2 separate regions of the Homo sapiens genome follow, and region 2 is linked to region 1. The links are contacts of gene promoters, found by promoter capture Hi-C in human tissues and cell types (Jung and others, 2019). All regions are on one chromosome and are shown on one strand. The core of a region is centred on a gene start or on the middle of the fragment in contact, and the rest is flanking DNA. Distances in the headings are between cores, read along the strand shown.

Region 1 (7,468 bases), core at 2,878-5,377:
TCATTTATCCATGTGTTTACTCTTTTGTTTGCAAGGCCTTCTGAGTGTTTGCTGCAATTCTACAATCAGAATATAAATTTGGCTTAAAATGGAATCTAGCTCCATACTGATAGGAACAAAAGGGACTTCAGACCTCCATGTTTTGAGATCTTAGGTCTCCAGCTTCACTAGAGATGCCTGTGAGGTGTTTGTGTGTGTGTTAAAGATACCTCTGATATGAAGATAGTCAGAATTAAAATGCCATTAGGATTAGAAGAGCAGTGTCAGCAGAGACCACTGGACTATTGCTGATCATGTGCAGAGGATCAAGTGACCAAAATCTATTCTACATAGAGTCTTGCTGCAAAGTTCTAGCTATTCCTAATGCCAGCATCAATCTCATTCACTGCCAATTCATGCAGGAGACCTAACTGTTGAGTACCTCCTCAAGGGAGAGTGGGTGCCTTTGGAGCTGTTGTTGTCCCTCAACTATCTTGGCTCTTGATTGGGTGGGCTTTTTGCTATTAGGTTAGCCAGTTAGTTTTATTGTGGGGACGAATTCCTTATTAGGTCGTGGCAAATCTGGATAAAATACCTATTAAAAATAATTTTCCCTTTGGAAAAACTTTGGCAGTAATTGCTAAAGCTGAACATATGTATACTCTCTGACCTAGCAATTTTACTTCTAGAAATAGATACCCAGCAGATATGCATGCATGTTTTCACCCAAAAAACCATGCACTGGAAGGCTGATGGCAGCAACTACCCAGATGTCCATCAGCTGTAGAATGGATAAGTTGTGCCACAGTCGTTTGATGGCATACTATATAGCAATAAGATTGAACAAACTATAACTGCACACAGAAGTATTAGTTTCATATTGCAGTGAAACATATTACCACAAACTTAGTGGCTTAAAGCAACACACACTTACAAGCTCACAGATGTGTAGGTCTTACATCTGGGCACGGCATAGCTGGGTTCTCGGCTGAGGGTCCCAACAGCTGAAATCAATGTGTAGGCGGCTGGAGCTCAGAATCCTCTTTGAAGTGTATTCAGGTTGTTAGCAGAAGTCGGAGTCTGCTTCATGATTGGAGGACTGAGGTCCTCATTTCCTTGCTGGCTGTCAGCCAGGAGCCAGTCTCAGCTCCTACAGGCTGTCTGCATCCTTTGCCTTGTGGACCTCTTCTGTCTTCGAAGGCAACAGCAAAGAATTTCCCTCATATCAGCCACTCTCGTGATTCAAATCTTTTTCACCAGGAAGAGCCCAGTCCCTTGTAAGGGCTCCATATGGCCATGCCCACTGAGGACAATTTCCTGATATTAAAGCCAACTGATTTAGGCCAATTACATCTGCAAATTCCCTTCACAGCAGCGCCTAGATCAATACCTATGGGAATGTGCATACAAGAAGGGGTGAGGAATCTTGGGGGTCTTCTTGTAATTCTGCCCACCACATGCAACAGCATGGATAAATCTCATAGCAACGTTAAGCAAAAGAAGGCAGACACAAAATAATATATAATGTATAATTGCATTTATATAAAACACAAAACAGGAAGCACTGATCTTTGGGGTTAGGATTCAGAACAGTGGTTACTCTTGAGTACATAGTAACCAGATAGGAACATGAGGGGACTCCTGGGGGCCGATAATTGATCTGTGTACTGGTTACATGGGTGTGTTCAGCTTGTGAAAACACAGCGACCTGAACATTTATGATTTGTGTACTTTTCTGTAAATGCATTATATTGCAATTAAAAAGTTCTTAGGATAATTTTGATTCATTTCTTGAAAATAGATTTGTTTTTCCAAGAAAACAGCACTCAAAGACAGGTATCAGAGTGAGCACCTGATGGGGTGGAGAATAAGCAGGAATACAAAAGAAACAACAGTGCCTTGCCTGGAGTGAAGATGATAGTACCCCTCAAACTCTACACTTGAGCACCAAGTAGAGAAAAATTAGTGAAAAATTAGTACTGTCATCTTGGAGCCTGTGTGTAGGACCTACCTCATAATTTGGCCCAGTGCAAAGAGAAATGCAAACCCCCTTGTTCAAAAGTTTGAAGACAGCAAGAGTGGAGCAATCAGTCAAAATCAATGGTGGTGGTGGGGACAAATGAACAAGTCCCACTCCCAAGAAGCCAGCCTGCCTGTGTGTGTGGGAGAAAGAACCTCATCTCAGAATCCCAAGACTTGTTGCTAGGTGAGTTACTTTGGGCATCTGTTGCTTTAGTCCTTTCAGCTGTAAAATGGGTTAGCCAGGGGCTAGGAGGTGAAAATTCATTAATATATGCAAGTGAAGCACGTTTTTATGTGCCAGACAGCAAACAAATACAGGAATTATTATAATAATGGGCCCTCTAAATGTTGGAGTTTTTCTTTAATTGGTTAAAAAGCCTACCTGTGGCCGGGCGCGGTGGCTCACGCCTGTAATCCCAGCACTTTGGGAGGCCGAGGCGGGTGGATCATGAGGTCAGGAGATCGAGACCATCCTGGCTAACAAGGTGAAACCCCGTCTCTACTAAAAATACAAAAAATTAGCCGGGCGCGGTGGCGGGCGCCTGTAGTCCCAGCTACTCGGGAGGCTGAGGCAGGAGAATGGCGTGAACCCGGGAAGCGGAGCTTGCAGTGAGCCGAGATTGCGCCACTGCAGTCCGCAGTCCGGCCTGGGCGACAGAGCGAGACTCCGTCTCAAAAAAAAAAAAAAAAAAAAAAAAAAAAAAAAAAAAAAAGCCTACCTGTGACCTTGCAGAGAAATACAGAAACTCTTCATGGATAGCACAGGGGCCACTTCTGCCTTATGAATTAACACAAATCCCGAATTCTTGGTGGAACCCTTATCATGAGATTTTACTGTGCATTATTTGATCTTTCCAGTTCAAAGAAGAAACTACTAAATGCCAAGGTCGAGAGTATTGGAGTCTGGGCACTTCCCCCATCAAAGTTCTTGTGCTGAGGTTTGAGTTTCGGTCAGGTTCGCTGTTGAATCCCTGGCCTGACTCTAGAACATCCCGGAGTGCCTGCTGGAACCTGGGAAGGGGCACCCTAGAATCTTCCAACCGGCCTCAGTGGCGAGCGCCGCGGGCACACGACTCCCAGCGCTTGGAGCCTCTGCGGTGTTAGGATGACAGGACTGTCGCCTGGCCGGGTTGGGGGGTGGGGACGGTATTTCAGGCTAAGAATTTCTGAGAGGCACGACATTCGCATTGCGTTTCTGTGATTATTCTCCCTGGCTTGCGTTCTGAAGCACGAATCTTTCCGGATGTAGTAACTGGCTTCCTAAAGCTTTGGGGGGACTGTGGTCCCCGAAGGCTGCCGGCTGCCTGACCTAAGATTTACGAGTGGTTCCAAGGATGAGACAAGGTCCCAGTGTCTCGGTGACAACAGGGTCTTTGACGAACGGCTGCCGAGTTGCAGCTGGGGAGGGGGAAGAGGACTGTGGCGGGGGCGGGGAGCCCCTGAATTTCTTCCTTGTAGGAGTTGGGCGCCGGGGCACGGGCAGGCAGCCCCGCAGGCCATCAGCATGCAGGAGCGGCGCGCCGTCCTTGAAGGGCTGCCCGGCTGACCTTGCTCCGCTTTCTCCGGAGAAATCGCTAGGAGAGCGCGAGGACGCGGCCACGATGGTGACTCAGTGCCCTGCGCGCCGCACGCAAATGCTCCCTTCCATCAAGTCCAGCTCCGCAACTGTTGTTTCCTCTTCCTGCCCTCTTTTTTTTCTTTTTTTTTCTTTTTGAGACGGAGTCTCGCTCTGTCGCCCAGGCTGGAGTGCAGTGGCGCGATCCCGGCTCACTGCAACCTCCGCCTCCCAGGTTCAAGCGATTCTTCTGCCTCAGTCTCCCAAGTAGCTGGGACTACAGGCGCGTGCCACCACGCCTGGCTAATTTTGTTTTTTGTATTTTTAGTAGATACGGGTTTTCGCCATATTGGCCAGGCTGGTCTTGAACTCCTGACCTTGTGATCCGCCCGCCTCGGCCTCCCAAAGTGCTGGGATTACAGGAGTGAGCCACCGCGCCCAGCCCCTGCCCTCTTTTTAATTCCAAGATTCAAACCCGGCGTTTTGCGCTCCGCCCCTCCCCCTCCCCACGGCCCGCCTATCATTAGCCAGACTGCGCGGGTGTTTTGTACGCCCCCTCCCCCCGTCCCTATCGGCAGAACCGGAGGCCAACCTTCGCGATCCCTTGCTGCGGGCCCGGAGATCAAACGTGGCCCGCCCCCGGCAGGGCACAGCGCGCTGGGCAACCGCGATCCGGCGCCGGACTGGAGGGGTCGATGCGCGGCGCGCTGGGGCGCACAGGGGACGGAGCCCGGGTCTTGCTCCCCATTGGCCGCCACCTCGGCGGGAGGGGCCGCCTCCGGCTCGTGGCACCTGGCGTCTCCCCTCCGCGGGGAAATCGGCGGCTACCCGGCACCGGCGCCTGGAGGTAAAGGTACCCGGGGGTGGGGAAGGCCCCTGGCCGCGGCAGAGCTCCCTGCCACCGGCCCTGTCCTGCTTGCCGCCCCAGCGCCTGCGACGCTTGGATGCCCCCAGCTCCGGCCGCGCCAACCAGAAACTTTGCCCCTCGAAGTCCCCCGCCTGCCTGACCGCACCGTGAGGCGCCAAGTCGGCCGCGCGCCCCCCGGGGCCCCGGAACCCCGCGAGTCATTGCCTGGCCGCCCCGTACCCCGCGCCCGCGGCGCCCGGTAGCCAGGATGCGCTACGCGGACCCCTCGGCCAACCGGGATTTGTTGGGGAGCCGAACTTTGCTCTTCATCTTCATCTGCGCCTTTGCCTTGGTGACCTTGCTGCAACAGATCCTGTATGGCAGGAACTACATTAAGAGGTAAGAAAGTCCATTGAGAGGGCGGGATGCGCGGAGCCGGCCGGCGAGCCCCCGGGTGGCAGTGGCCGCGGCAGCTTCGGTCGCAGCGCCCCGGGGTGAGTGGCCGTGGGGTCCGCTCCTAGCCCCGAGCATGGCCGCTTAGGCTTGGGCCACCGCGTTTCCAAGAGCATCCTTGCTTGCTTCTGCCCAGCGCTGGCTGGAGGGTCCAGACAACTTTGTTCCGCTGTGAAAAATGAAGGACAGAATAGAATTCCAAGCAACCAGGCTGACGATAAATCCATTTAATACCCGGAGAGACCGCATGGATCGGAGCGGTGTCCTCCAGACCCACAGTTCTATGGCCATTTGTTTGGACTCCGGGGTCGGAGGGCTCAAAATCGTATCGATTGTTTGTTTGTTTGTTTGTTTGTTTATAACCTCGCGAGTCCTGAACTTTCGTAAGGACCCTTGGGAGAAAAAGCATTTTCCCCTCCAGGAGCTTCGGGTTCGGTGGGGGTGGTAGTGTGGGCTGTGGCTATGCGACAGGGATAGTGATAGTGAAGTCTTACAATCCCACAGCCACTGGATCTGTGAAACTCAACAACCTGATTCCTTCTGAAACAGATGGCTTTTTTTTTCTCATCCTTAGCGCAAAAGGTCAGAGCTGCAGCATAAGTTAACCCCTCGTTGGGCTCTCCCCCTACTCCACCCCAATCCACGGTTAAACTCCAAGAGAAAGAGCAGTAGGAGGTGTCACTCAGAAATTCAATTCGGGCACAGCCTCAGCCTCTCTATTTGCAGAAGATACACTGAAATGCCAGCCACTTCCTTCTGCCGGCTCTGCTGGCTTAAGGAAACACTTGGGGTTCCTCCGCCTGGTTTGAGAGATTAGGGGAGGTTCTTGCTCTAGGATACACCCATATCAGAGCCTCTCTTGGCAAGAGCCCTCTCTCCTAGCTGCTGGGCTGTTTTTTAGTTTGCTGCTAGTGTCTCCCTACTCTCACCGCCCCTCCCCTAGGTTGATAGGAAAATAAATGTCTCTCTAGCTAAGTAAGCATCCCACCTTCTTCTCTAAACTTCCCCATAACGAAACAGCCCTCTTCTCATCCTTTGGGTGAGGTGGATACATCAGGTATGGGTGCTCCCAATCTGGGCTGCCCACGAAGGTGGGAGGGTGAGGATCGCTGCTAGGTGTCGCTGTCCAGTGGAAAAGCCGAGCACTTAGGCTGTTTCCCCTCCTTGTAACTCCCCCGGAGCTGGGGAGTAATGAGGCACCTTGTTCTGAACATTTGTTTACAGCCAGTTGCTGCTCCGGACCTTCCCAGGGAGCGTTCCCTGGTTGGTGGCAGCTCCTGAGTGCTGTCTGACACTGGTGGCTTTAAAGGCCATCTTCGGAGTCTCCTGGCTTCTTGGATCTGATTGGGCCTGCCTCTTGTTTTGGCTACTGCTGCCCCTGAGATGATCCTATGCAAGGACAGCTGGGTCCCCCACAGCTTGCTGCGGCCCTGCAGGCCGATTGCCTGCTGCTGTCTTGGCACTTGCTCTTCAGCAGGGCAGCTCTGGGTTCCTGCCCCCTCCCGGCACCTCCCCAAAGTTGCTGGGGCTGCTGGGATTCCTTCTGCCTTGTCAACAGGGGGAAAATACAACCGCCCATGGCAAACGCCAACCAAACTACCTGCTTGCTCTGGCAAGTCCTCCCTGGTCTTGGGTGGGTGGGCTAGCTGCCAGGAGTTCAGCAGGCACACAAGGTGCTTCCCTTCCTCCCTCACAGAGACCCTGACCCCCTGAATCGCATAGATGCTATCTTGCAGGCCTCACTCTAGAGACTCAACCCAATCAACCAGGCAAAACTTGTATAGGGCTGATCCTGGAAGCGTGCCTGTAGATAAGGGTCTGTAAAGAAGGAGATGATGTGGTCTTGGTACTCAGAGGACTCGAAGTCTATTTGGGGCAACAAAATAGCCACAAATGAAACAGAAAGTGAATGTTAAACTGTCTGAGAAGAGAAGCACTGATAGGCTGGAGAAGTTAGGCAAGACTGTGCCCAGAGGAAGTTGAACTTGAGTGGGCCTTGAAGGAAGGGTAAGATTTGAGGGTGGGGGCAGGGGGCATGCACATCCAAAAAGTGGGCAGGAGCAAAGGTGCAGAGATGCAAGTGTGTCACAATTTCCTCCCGTCTCTCCCACACCTGACCCTACCTACACTGCAGCACTTGGCTTAATCATTGGTTAGTCCTGATCTTGAACTGGATGTGGCTGTCACATCAGTGTCACCCCTAGCACCTGCTTACCTATCTTGTTTCCTCCATATATCATGATTGTAATGAACTGGCCTGATGTGATTATCATCAGTCTGTCTCCTGTCTACAAACACTTGACCAGTGTTCTTCAAGCAGAGGCTCTGGGAGGGCCTGAATCAGAACCAACTGGAGGACCATTGAAATGCAGACTCCTGAGCCCCTGAATCTGACTGTCTTCGGGTGAGATCTACTAACCTGCCTTTGTAACAAGCTCCCCAGGCGATCTGCAAGCTGCAACAAGCTCCTCCTGCTGCTCTAGACCAGTGGTTCTCAATCCCCTATTCCCCGTGGCAATGTTTGGAGACTTCTGTGGCATTCACACTGGGGAGAGGAGAGTGCTGCTGCATGCAGAGGGAAGAGGCCAAAGAGGTTGTAAAGACCTATAATG
Region 2 (7,468 bases), core at 1,664-4,163, 470 kb after region 1:
TTCTCTAAAATACACTGATGTAAAACATAGTGCTCTTTCACTGTTAAATTCCCTAACACTGGGTGGGTACATAGCCTGAGTCTGAAAAGAGCCACGGTTTCAGTGATGTCTTTACTGCCAGACCCTCCAGGATGTGAGAATGCATGTTACCCTTCACCTCACTTTTGCTCAGTCCATCTCCCACGGACCCCACAACAGGACTTCAGAAGTGGGCTGTAGCCAGGGGCTAGACCACTGGAGGACATGCAGACAGTCCCCTCCCAGTATGTCTCATCTTGGCCCTTCTTGGCATACCTATCTCATTTCTTCCTCACCGGGACCTGGCCCTCTTTGATGCCCAATTCACAAGATAGGATATTAGACCCGCAGCTCTCAAATTTACAGTGACTGCAAGAGATCACTGAGACTGATGCCAGCCAGTGATCTAGTGTCCCAGTTCCAAATTCCCTGGAGGGACTCTGAACATCCCAGTTTGGTCAGGATTCCATCCCTGGACCAGTCAACTCTGGCCTGACAGACAGGTATGTCCTCATAACTCTTCTTGCTGTAATTATGTAGACTGGGATGGAGCAGTTTTCAGAAGGGATAAAGATTAGTTGGGCTGACAGCCCTACAGATGTGCAACCAGCATTTTTGTTTTTTGTTTCTTTTTTTTTTTTTTTTTTTTTTGAGACGGAGTCTCACTCTGTCGCCCAGGCTGGAGTGCAGTGGCATGATCACGGCTCACTGCAGCCTTAACATCCCAGGATCAAGCCATCCTCGCACCTCAGCCTCCTGAGTAGCTGGGACCACAAGTATGTGCCACCATGCCCCGGCTAATTTTTTATTTTTTATAAAGATGAGATCTCCGTATGTTGCTCAGAGTGGTCTCAAACTCCTGGGCTCAAGCAGTCCTCCTGCCTCAGCCTCCCAAGGAGCTGGGATTACAGGCACCCAGCCCCCAACCAGCTTTTAAGGAATGCTGGAAATAAATGCAAACACAAAGTAGACTGAGAAGGACCATGCCATCGTTTCGCCACCATATCGTAGACCTTGTTTTTCCATCTGCTGGGAATGATTTCCACCATCCATCCCACCCATGGACCATCCCAGAGAATTCTCCGTGTGCCCAATTCAGATGTCACCTCCTCTCTGGTGTCTTCCTTGACCCCTACAGACTAGAATAATTGTACCTCTATCTGGGCTCACAGTTCACATTACATTAGTCTGTTCTAAGTGCTTTCATTGCTTACATTTGTGTCTCTCCTCTCAGACTGTCGTTTTGTGGATGCCTCTGGGGTGATGGCTACGTCTCTTCCTTGTAGCTTTAGCATTAAGCAATATAGCTGGCATACGGTAAGAATTCAGGGTATGTTTATTGCAACAAAATGTTGATTAATAATTATTCTTCATTTGAGGTTCAGTTCAAGCCCTTCTACCCACAGAAACATTCCCATTACTTACCTAATGTATGTTGAGTGCCTACTGTTTACCCTACCCTGTTCAGGGTAATGAAAAGAACCCTTAGCGCAACTGCGAAGCAAGCAAAGGCTTTCTTTAAATATCACCAGAATTCCTATCCTCACCACTCCTGTTCCTGAGACTTAGATCCCTCACCCAGATTTTCAGGGACCTGCTAACTGACCTGATGAATTTAACTTTCATCTTCCAGGGTGTCCCATACTCAGCTCCCACAAGACCTAATTACATCATATGCACATCAGCGTCTAGCACATAGCTAGGGCTTCATAAATGTTACTAAGCTAAATGAATGAATAAGCAAATGAATGTCACTATCTTAAGAATCCCATGAGGCTCCCAATTGTAATACTGATCGTTATGGACTGAATGTGTGTGTCCTCCTGAAATTCATATGTTGAAGCCCTAAGCCCCAAGGTCATAGTATTTAGAGATGGGGACTTTCAGAGGCAATTAGGTTTAGATGGGGTCATGAGGGTGTGGACCCTATGATGAAATTGGTGTCCTTATAAGAAAAGGAAGAGAGTATGGCGTTCCCTCTCTCTACCAGTCGGGACAAAATGGAAAGGTAGTCGTCTGCAGCCCAGGAGGAGAGCTCTCACCAGAACCTGAACTCTGATGGACTTTGATCTTGACTTTCCAGCCTCCAGAACTGTAAGAAAATTAATTTCTTTTATTTAAGCTACCCAATCTATGGTATTCTGTTATGGCAACCCAAGCTAAGACATGATTTTTCAGAGAGTTTTGCAATTTCAAATACTGTATTCTGTCCTCTTATCCCCATTAACATGCTATTGTTTGTTAGATTATCAGTCCTGAGTTTGGTTTAGCAAATAAAGTCATTTTCATTGCCACTATAGTGACCTTCAAATCTAAACAGTCCTGCCTGACTTTCAAGGCCCTCTGCAATCCATCCCACCCTATGTACATACCTACAAAAAAACTCCCTCCTGCCCCTGCCCTAATCTATTGTTTCAGTAGAGAAAGTACTTCACACATGTAGCAGATACATTACTGGGTTTTAAAATAAGTCAACTGTAGAAAAGTTGGAAAAATCAAAACAATCCAAAGGTGAAAACATCTCCCACAGTCCAAGCATTAATATTCACTTCTTTGCCATCTCTTTTCAATGAATTTAACTATATTCTTCCAACAAAATTGAGAGCACACTGTTTTGCATCATGTTTATTTCCCTTAGCGATAACTAAACACATTTATTTCTGCCTCCATGTCTTCACCTATAGATATACAATCTTAGCATTGAAAGGAGCCAGAGAAGGGCAGGGAATCTTCAGTAACATTCAGAGAAGAAAGTGACACAAGAACTAGCTTCCACTGAATACTCCCAGGAATGGGCACTCCCCTCCCTCCCAAGGCAGCCTGACCCCTGAGGGAGAATTTCTTCCTGGAACGCTCTTCCCATTGTCCATGAGCTGAAATTGGCCTCTCTGAGCCTCTGTGTTCTACTCATGCCCCCTTGAATGGTACCCGATAGACTACAGATTCTTCCTGACAGCCTGTTGACTCCTCAAAAACTGAGAGCATGACCCCTTTTCTAGGTTCAACAATTCTGAACCCCTTGCCATCTTCTATATTACCTAAATTCCACTCTGCCGGTAATTCTTGTCAGCCGTGTTATTAAATCATGCCATTCAGTTAGAATTGTAGGTGTCTTTTAGTTACTTCTTTACAATCTTCTGTATTTTCCCAATTTCTTACCATGAATGTATATTACTGCCATTATTACAAAGAATAATTTCATGTATGATGTTACTTCTCTGTTGTCCTGCTATTGCTTTTCACTCTTAAATGGCTGGCGCCTCCAGAGCCACTGACATTCTCTAATGTGCCATCCCTCCCCATCAGAGAGAGGGTCAGGGTGCTCCTCTGACCCTCCAGTGACTGGATTAGAGCCCCTTGGCTTCCACTGTCATGGACTTCGCCTAACGGGACATCCCCCTGTTCACACATCACTTTCTCATGACCACACAGAGAGCATGGGAGACTTCGTTCAGTGCCTTGTGATGATACCCTTTGCATTTCCTATGATGCTGACAATAAATATGTGACGTGAATGAAAAAAAATTATTGGCTGAGCACGGTGGCTCATGCCTGTAATCCCAACACATTGAGAGGACAAGTGGGTCACCTGAGCCCAGGAGTTTGAGACCAGCCTGGGCAACACAGCAAAACCCTGTCTCTACACAAAATACACACACACGCACACACACACACAAGAAAAAAATTAGCCGGGCATAGTGGTGTGCACCTATGGTTCCAGCTACTTGGGAGGCTGACACTGGAGGATTGCTTGAGCTCAAGAAGGCAAGGCTGCAGTGAGCCATGATTGTGCCACTGCACTCCAGCCTGTGTGACAGAGCAAGATCCTATCTCAAAAAAAGAAAAAAAAAAAAAAGGAAGAAAAGAAAGAAAAAGAAAACAAAATTATTTGATAACGCAAGTCCCTGGGAGTTTGATTTGACATGATTTTAATGAGTTAATTCCAGGATGGGCACAGTTCTTCGCAAAGTGCTCCCAAACCACCTGTTTAATAATTCTAGAATGCTACTGAGTGTCGTTAAGCTTACATCCCAGGAATCATGTTCTTCACTTTTTGGAAATCGGGACATTTTGCTCCCTCTGGCTGGTTGGTCCTTCCTCTCTTTCTGAACTCATCCTAAAAGTCCTGTCTCCTTCTCCGGCCATTCAGGACCACTCGGTGGACTCTCCCTTCCTGCAATTGTGGTAATTATTCAGAACCAGAATGAAACAACAGCAGTAGTAATAGCTGCCACATACTGGGAGCTTGCTCTATGCCAGACACCACGCTCAAGGACTTCACAATGCTTCATCACGTGTATCACTTAGCACTGTATCATACTTTTGAATATATATGTGTGTGTGTAAAGTTTTAATCACTTGAATAACAGCTGCTATTATGACCATTTAGCAGATGAAGAAACTGATTCAGAGAGGTTCAGGCTCCTGCACTGAGCCTTAGACAGTGAACAATTTCAGGGTCCAAACCTGGGTTTATCTGGGTCCAAAGTCCAAGTTCTTACTTCCTCTACCCTGGCATTGTTTCTGGGGCTTTCTATGATTTCTGAGGCTTCCATCTGAATATTTCTGGCACGTCCTGTGCAGCACCTAACATGGCCATAGGCACACAGTAAGGGAGTCCTTAGGGGCCAAGTGGTTTTTCTAGAGCACTGGCCGTGGTCCTGCCTCTTGTGGGTGCTGGTGTCATCTTTCACCTCTACCTCCAGGCACCGGGAGAAGCTGACTGGAGGGGATTTGGCAGAGGCCAAAGAGGGCTCAGCCCAGCTGTCTCCACCTCTCTTGCTGGATGGGAGAGGCACCACATTACAGAAACTGATATACCCAATGCCCTGAGACCCAGGGAGGGCAATCCTGTGAGAAGTTTCCACCCTTTGTTCTCTCCCACCGAGCCCCCAGGGGCTGATAATCTAATTCTCAACAAGTCCTTCCTGGCTGGTAATTGAATTGTGTTTTCCTCCCAGTCCAATCAGGGCCCTCATCCTACATCTGTCTGACAAAACACTAGGCCAGGCATCTTGGGAGGGGCAGAGACCTGGGAGGCACTTTTCAGCTTCCAGGAGCTTAATATTTCAGTTGCCACAGGTGCAGGGACTGACATCCTATTGACTAGCAATCCATGACTGCTGCCCACTTCCAGGACAATCGCTGAGGTCAGGAGGGCTCAAGGCGGTGAGCCTTAAAGGAGGGTTGTGTTGTGGAGGAGGGGATGATGGTCAGCTGGGTTCTGGTAGACAGGGAGGAAAGGCGGAGGTGTGGGCAAAGTCCTGGAGGTGGGAACATGCACGACACATTCAAGTAACAAGAAGTAAGTCTGCCTGGATGGGCCTTCACTGTCTTCAACCGAGGGATGACGAATGACTCCAAAACACTCAAATTGTTCCTGGGAAGTCGGGTGGGGGGAAGTGTGAGTCAGCAGGCTCCTCTCACTATGCCTATGGCCCAGCCTCGGTCTACAGAACAGAGAGAGCCTGGTGCTGGAACTGGGTGTGCAAGGGTGCCCCAAATCAGGACACAACCACCTCATTCGTCCAGCCCAGAAATAGGGACATTTCTTCATCTCCTCTCCCACTCCTACCTAATCTAATCTGTCTCCAAGTCCTGCCTATTTCACCATCTCAGCTCTTCAGTCATCTCTCTGGCAGGCAGGCACTGTCACATCTCCCCCGTCTCTTGGGGACGAGCCCCTCCCTGATTGCTCTCCTCCACCTTGTTGCTCTCTGGCACATCCACACATATCTCCATGTGGCTCCCCCATGCATGCCACTTTCCATGGCTTCCCAGTGCCTTTAGGTCCAGAGCCTTTTGTGGCTTTGTCCTCTCATCTGGCTGGTGCCATCTCTTGCGACTCTTAAGCTCCCCAAAACATTCTGGTTTAGTGCTGGGCCTTTAGCTCAATTTATGATTACAACGCCCATACCACCAGTGCCTTCTATATGTGCTTAATCCTCACGGAAACCCCGTGTGGAAGAGGAACAGAGAGGTTAAGTGACTTGTCTGTGGTCACACAGCTGGTAAGGGCGGAGCAGGATTCGCACCCAGGTGACTTATTCCCATAGCCCAGCTTCTTTATTTTTAGAGACAGCGTCTTGCTCTGTCACCCAGCCCAGAGTACAGGGACATGATCATAGCTCATTGGAACATTGAACTCTTGTAGTCCAGCTTCTTAACACTAGATTATAGTCTCTTCAGAAATGTCTATGGACACCAGTGGCCTCCTAGCCCTCCACATTCCCCTCCAACGTATGTTCACTATCAAGTCCCAACTGCATTTAAGGTTTCTGCTTATCTGACACCCCTCCACGAAGCTTTCTCTGGTGCCCCACTGTCCAGGTTTGGGTTAGGGTAGTGGTTCCCCTACTTTAATGCACACTGGAATTACCTGGGAATCTTTGTAAAAATCCTGCTGCCTGACTCCCACTCCTAGACATTGCGATTAAATCAGTACAGGGCGCACCCTAGACAAAAGCTCCGTAGATGACTGTAACTTGCAACAAATCTGGTAACAAAAGGCAGTGCAGTCATTCTGAAATTGGAGCAGGCATCAGAATTACCAGGAAGGCTGATGAAAACAGATTGCTGGGCACGGCCCCAGACTTTGATTCTATACATCTCGGTTAAGGTCCGAAAATATACATTTCTAGCAAGTTCCCAGGTGAGACTGCTACTGCTGTGGGTCCAGAGACCACATTCGGAGAGCCGCTGAGCTAAGGAGTCCTCCAGGTGCCCAAATGATCCCAGAGCACCCGGTGGTCATCGCCACCTAAGCCCTTATCACATCTATTCTAATTGTCTGTGTGCTCCTCCACTACCCCGGCCAGGCCACAGCTTTCTCTGTTATCTTTGGTAACCAGTGTCAACAGAGGTTGGGTCAATGAATCCACGAGACACCCAGGCAGGCTGCGCACTCCACAGCAATCCTTGTTTCTAACTGGAAAAAGTTAGAAACTGAACGCCTCCTGGGGGCAAGCACTGTCCTAAGCACCTCACACCAACGGCCCCTTAATCTTCACAAGCACTCTACAAGTAGGTGCTACTACCATTCCATTTCAGAGACCCTCAAGGAAACCTGAACACAGAGGGGTGGAGTAACCATTGTGCTGGGAGGCCCTTTATCAGGTGACCCCAAAGCTCTCCCCCACCACCGGACCCACATGCCCAGTCTAGACTCCCAGTGGGTTTCCGAGTACAAGTCTCCATCTATTGGTGGGTTGTGAGATCAACCAGTGGGTGTAAGCAGCATCTTTTAAATGACCCAATCTGGCAGACCTGAACAGAAATAGACAAGAATACACTCAGGTAGTGACAGTAAGTGTTGTTCAGCAAAACATCCATGTGCATAAGCCTATACTGGCTCATGATATAAAATCTATGTCTGACTGTGAATCATAGTCAACAAAGTTTTCAAAACATTAGCTTAGAGAAACAGCCTCCAAATCTCCAAGCAAGTCCT

What was found. The method cuts DNA at HindIII sites, captures the fragments that hold promoters and counts their contacts. A contact is called where the count stands out against the background at its distance.
Region 2: a contact is called between a fragment that was not itself captured here and the fragment with the promoter of ST8SIA5 in region 1, in 1 of the 25 tissues and cell types used here (dorsolateral prefrontal cortex).

The regions. Positions count from the first base shown.
Region 1 is chr18:46,753,712-46,761,179 of GRCh38, reverse strand. ST8SIA5 (ST8 alpha-N-acetyl-neuraminide alpha-2,8-sialyltransferase 5) reads left to right here and starts at 4,127. Exons shown (of 7, transcript NM_013305.6): 1 at 4,127-4,802. The coding sequence starts at 4,672. It overlaps ST8SIA5-DT (ST8SIA5 divergent transcript), which reads right to left and starts at 3,737. Exons shown (of 3, transcript XR_001753434.3): 1 at 2,721-3,737; 2 at 914-2,383. RefSeq lists a silencer at 4,155-4,544. The HindIII fragment of the contact is 8,707 bases long and covers 589-7,468 here.
Region 2 is chr18:46,281,396-46,288,863 of GRCh38, reverse strand. No RefSeq gene overlaps it. Among named protein-coding and RNA genes, the nearest start is that of ARK2C, 49 kb to the left of the region's middle. The HindIII fragment of the contact is 4,538 bases long and covers 645-5,182 here.